Linked DNA regions of Homo sapiens: region 1 is linked to region 2. The links are contacts of gene promoters, found by promoter capture Hi-C in human tissues and cell types (Jung and others, 2019). All regions are on one chromosome and are shown on one strand. Each heading gives the region's core, a stretch centred on a gene start or on the middle of the fragment in contact. The rest is flanking DNA. Distances are from core to core; before and after follow the strand shown. Region 1 has its middle 150 kb from the start of METTL4. Region 2 holds the start of TYMS (thymidylate synthetase).

Region 1 (2,700 bases), core at 66-2,565, 1.8 Mb before region 2:
AAGTTTGCCTTTACATTGTGGGAGTTGGATTTGAATTAGATTGGGAGGGGTAAATTTGGGAGAGGACCTTAAACATTACAAATGACTTTCATAGGGGAAAATATCAAGGATGGAAAGAAAGAATAATCCTATTTTGTTTTATTTCTCCTGATGGCAGTGTTGGAGGTATTTGCGTTGGTGTTGGGATGGGTGGTGTATGTGTGGGTATGTGTGAATATGCAAGAAGTAGGGCATAAATGTGCTGGACTGAAAGTAATGTTGAGCCTGTTAAAGATCGAGGGAAGAAGGATGGTAGAGCAAGGGTCAACAACTCCAATGCACTCGGTGCAGCTGCTAAGTTAAATGATGAAGGGTAAAAATGAAGGCTGTAATGACTGGTGTGGGCTGTGATTACTGAATGTGTGCATCCCCTGAAGGCATTCAAAGTCCATTTAAAAACAAAACAAACACCATGCAGACCAAGCAAGACAGCTGCATGGGCTCAAATCCGTCTTCTGCACTGGTGGCCAGCTTAGAATTCTGGGCAAAAGTTTAAGAAGTAGGGGCTCAGGAGGCAAACTGTCTAGATTCAGTACCTCTTAAACCTGATAAACGTGGCAAGTTATTTAGCATCTGAAAGCCTCATTTTCCTCACCTCTAGAATGTAGATAATAATAGTACTTACCTTTTGGGATTATTGGGAGGACATTGAGAGAATGCATATACATAACAACACACTTAACAGAATAGCTGGCACCTAGCAAGCATTGAATAAATATTTGTTGTGTGTGTATACATACACACACATAAATAGAAATATATAGAAATATATATACAAATGGCCATTTCCTCCTTCAAATAATCATCTGGGGAAACTATACACTTTTATAATAATGTCTTTGACAACAAATACTTTATTTGTTCATCTTTGTATCTCCCCATGTTGAAGAGACTTCAGAGCCTGTGGCATAGTCTTCTGAATGTATTTGATGGCAGCAAATGTCTTCTTTCAGAAAGTGGGAGGGGATTTGGATTTTGAAAAACATTAGGAGTCCTTTGCAGTGAAGACTGACGAGTAAGATAAATAATAAAATGGAGTGATACAATTTACAAAAATGAGTTAATAAAAGGGAAGAAGAATTTAGGCATAAAAGGATGTGCAGTATGGAGATGGGAACTCATTCAGAGAGAATAGGCCATAATTATTTTGCTGCTTTTCTAGCTCCCTGATATTTTTATTTTAGCACATCTTCTCCACATTTAAATGTTGGAGAACCCTGGGGCTCAGTAATCGAGCCTCTTCTCTCTATCTATCCTCACTCTCCCCCGGTGATCTCATGCCTTCTCATGGCTTTAACTACCTTTTTTTGCTTCACTCCTAAATTTATACTTTCAGTTAGCATTTTTCCTCTGGACTCTAAACTTACATATTCGACCACCCAGTTGACATCTCTACACTGATGTCTAATGAGCTCCTCAAATTTATGTCCAGAATGGAGCTTTTGCTATTCGGTACCCCCTTCCCAAATCAGCTTTCCCCGTTATTCTTCCTGACTCAGCTAATGGCAACTCTGTCCTCCTTGTTGTTCAAGGCAAAACCTGTGGTGTCATGCTTAATACCTCTTTTTCTCTCATACCTTGCGTGTGGCTCATCAGCATATTCTGTCTACTCTACCAGGTATCACCCCAGTTCTACCATCCCGGTCCAAACCACCGTCGTCTCTCCCCTGGATTTTTACAGCAGTTCATCCATCCTGTGCCTATGCTTGTCCTCTTTCTCAGCACCTCGCCACAGTGATCCTGTTCAAATGAAAGTCTGGTCATGTTACTGCTCTAAGGCTTCCCATCCGACTCAGTTGCAGTCCTTACTGACCTATGAAGCGGCTCTGCAAACTTGTCTCCCGTCCAACCTTTCTGGCTTCATTGCCTCTCTCCTCATTGACTCACACCTGCCACACTGGCCTCCTTCCTGTTCCCTGAACCCCACCAGGAGCTGCTACCTCAGGACCTATGCTCTTGTTACTTCCTGTCTGGAATGCTTGTCCCCTCTATATTTGCATGGCTACTTTTCTCACTTCCTTCAGGTCTTTACTTACAGTCACCTTCCCTGGCTGCCCTGTTTAGGAATTTTATTTCCTTTCCCCATATTTTCCTTCTGTGATTAATTTATTTATTTTTCCTTAGCAATTGCTTCTCTCTCTCTCTCTCTGTCTCTCTCTCCCTCCCCTCTCTCAAAAGTATAAGCTCTTTGAAGGCAGAAAATTTGTGTGTTTTGTTAACTATTGTATCTCTGGTGTCTTGAATATGCCTGGCCCATAGTGAACACTCAATAAATACGTGTTGAGTAAAGGAATACATGCATTCATTGCCTTTTCTGTTATCTATTTAAAAATAATGCAGCAACTGTGGACGATACAGGCAATGATTATAGTGGAGAAGGCACAGGACCAGGAATCCAGGCACTTGGATTCTACTTCCAGCTGTGCTACTCAGTAGCTTTGTAGTTTTTGGCCCGTGACTTTACCTCCACAAGCCTTGATTTCCTCATGTACAAAATGAGGCGGTTAAATGAGATATATAGATGACTGCTAGAATCACTTTCATCTCTGGGGTGAAATGACTAATATAACAAGGAAGATTCTTATAATAACAAAGATCTGTGCTTTATTTCAGACCAATTTAGAACTCTTTGTGATAGCCAGAGAGGGTGCATTTGTGCAT
Region 2 (2,700 bases), core at 1-2,500:
CTAGATGGGTCCGTGGGCCGGAGGGCTTTTCCGCTAGCTACAGTGAATCTGCTTCACCACGAATGGGTTTCCCCATTCAAAACCACCTCCACCCCTGTGTCAAGGCTGCGCTCCATTTATCTGAGCGGTCAAGGTCAGCCCCTGGCTCACACACCTTCGAGTCCCCTCCCCCGCGCAGCTGGCGCAGGATCCAGGACGGCAGGACGGTGTGGCCTTAGGGAGGGCCAACGGCTGCCTAACGTCCTGTGCCCACCCCGCCCCGCCCCACTGTCCCCTGAAAGCCTGGCGCCAATGACCCGCGAGACATTTTTTGCCTGGGGTGCTCCTGTCGGAAAGGAAAGAGGAAAGGACGACTAAGAACTTATACTCGAACTCCCGAATTTCTCTTTTCAAGGTTTAAGAGGAAAGCTGGTTCGTGGGGATTGGATGGGAGGCCACCAGGAAACCAAGTTCCCGCGCCAGCTTCAGTGCTCTCCTCTTCCCGCCGCCTTTGCCCCGCCCACATCACTTTCGCTCCAGTTTTTGAAAACGCTGCGAAGCGGAATGGTCCACAGGGGAAAACGGAGGAGGGGCCAAAGCCAGGACTTTGAGACCGGCGCGCGGTCAAGCCCAGGCAGCTCTCCCTAACCCTCCAGCACTGGGCAAACGCTGCCCGATGACGCCCGCCTCGGGGGCCACGGCATCACTGGGGCGACTGCGAGCCCGGCCGCGGAGCCGCTGGGACGCGGCTTACCTCCCGGCTGTCGCTGCTGTGTGTGTTGCCCGCGCCAGTCACGTCCCTAATGGGACCCTCCGTTTCGGCGTCTGTAAGGCGAGGAGGACGATGCGTCCCCTCCCTCGCAGGATTGAGGTTAGGACTAAACGGGGTCCGCAGCGCCCGGCAGCTCCCGAGCGCTCTCCCCAGCCGCGCCTCCCTCCTTCCCGCCACCCGTCCCGCAGGGGCCCGCGGCGTCACCTCTCAGGCTGTAGCGCGCCTGCATGCCGAATACCGACAGGGTGCCGGTGCCCGTGCGGTCGTCCTTCCTGACGCCGCAGCGGAGGATGTGTTGGATCTGCCCCAGGTACTGCAGCTCCCCGTGCGGCGGACGCGGCTCGGCGTCCCGCTCCTGTGCGGCGGGGGGCAAGGGCCGGCGCGGCAGCTCCGAGCCGGCCACAGGCATGGCGCGGCGGGCGGGGGACGGAGGCAGGCGAAGTGGCGCGGCGGGACGGAGGCAGGCCAAGTGGCGCGGCGGGACGGAGGCAGGCCAAGTGGCGCGGTGGCAGGACCCCTTCCGCGCGCCTTTTCCCGCGGCCGTCCCGCGCTCCGCCTCTTCCTGCTCGGCGGGGTCGCGGCGGCCCCCGCTCTAGAGAGCGTGCGCCAGGGGGAAACGCAGGAGCCACGGGTGTGGCACAGAACGGAGCCCAGGGCCACAGCTGAGAGTCTTAGGAAACCCGGGAACCTGGATGCAGGTGCGGTGGCTGGGAAGGACTGCGCCCTTTGGGAACCGTCTGGTCGACCGCGCCTTCTCTAAGCCAGCAGCACAGTTCCCACGTTTTCCTGCGGTCTTGTCAACAAAACTGCTGTTTGAGATCTGTTTCCTACAACTAATAAGGGATTTGCATTTCCATTTCTTCGTTCTCACTGAAGCAACCGAAGCAAGTGGTATAATGCAGCTTTTCTACTTGATTAAAAACCGCCAGGGCGCTGGACGCGGTGGCTCACGCCTGTAATCCTAGTACTTTGGGGGGCCGAGGCGGGTGGATCACCTGAGGTCAGGAGTTCAAGACCAGCCTGGACAACATGGTGAAACCCCCGTCTCTACTAAAAGTACAAAAATTAGCTGGGCGTGGTGGCTACTTGGGAGGCTGAGGCAGAAGAATTGCTTGAACCTGGGAGGCAGAGGTTGCAGTGAGCCAAGATCCGACCATTGTACTCCAGCCTGGGCGACAGAGCAAGACTGTCCCAAAAAAAAAAAAAAAAAAAAAAAAAAGACCGCCAGGGCTTTTCCGAGGTTTTTTGTTTGAGCCCTGGCGGTCTTTTTTTTTTTTTTTTGAGACAGAGTCTCGCTCTCTCACCCAGGCTGGAGTGCAATGGTGCGATCTCGGCTCACTGCAACCTCCGCCTCCTGGGTTCAAGCAATTCTGCTGCCTCAGCCTCTCGCGTAGCTGGGACTACAGGCGCCGCCACCACGCCCGGCTAATTTTTTTTTTTCATGTTTAGTAGAGACGGGGTTTCGCCATGTTAGCCAGGCTGGTCTCAAACTCCTGACCTCAGGTGATCCACCCACATTGGCCTCCCAAAGTGCTGGGATTACAGGCGTGAGCCACCGCACTCGGCCCCAAGTTTTTAATAGACCACATTTCCCAGTTTTACTGAATTGTTTATAACATTAACACTGGGGAGTGGGAACTGTTGATGAAAAGAGTTAAACTCTGTAAAATATCTGAAGAAATTTATTCTGAGCCAAATATGAGTGACCAATGGCCGGTGATAGAGCCCTCAGCAGATCCTGAGAACATGTCCCCAAGGTGGTTGGGCTACAACTTGATTTTTTATACATTTGGTTGAAAGAATTGTTATCTAAAGATCTGGAATCAATAGAGGGCTGGGCGCGGTGGCTCACGCCTGTAATCCCAGCACTTGGGAGGTCGAGGCGGGCAGATCACGAGGTCAGGAGATTGAGACCATCCTGGCCAACATAGTGAAACCCTCTCTACTGA

What was found. Contacts are between HindIII fragments. The study calls those that stand out against the background at their distance.
Region 1: a fragment that was not itself captured here is called in contact with the fragment with the promoter of TYMS in region 2 in 1 of the 25 tissues and cell types used here (dorsolateral prefrontal cortex).

Annotation. Positions count from the first base shown.
Region 1 is chr18:2,419,796-2,422,495 of GRCh38, reverse strand. No RefSeq gene overlaps it. Among named protein-coding and RNA genes, the nearest start is that of METTL4, 150 kb to the left of the region's middle. The HindIII fragment of the contact is 6,885 bases long and covers 1-2,700 here.
Region 2 is chr18:656,203-658,902 of GRCh38, reverse strand. It overlaps TYMS (thymidylate synthetase), which reads right to left and starts at 1,250. Exons shown (of 7, transcript NM_001071.4): 1 at 956-1,250. The coding sequence starts at 1,160. It overlaps TYMSOS (TYMS opposite strand RNA), which reads left to right and starts at 612. Exons shown (of 2, transcript NR_171001.1): 1 at 612-1,061. RefSeq lists enhancers at 538-657, 525-1,024, 1,025-1,526 and silencers at 888-937, 1,108-1,287. The HindIII fragment of the contact is 10,369 bases long and covers 1-2,700 here.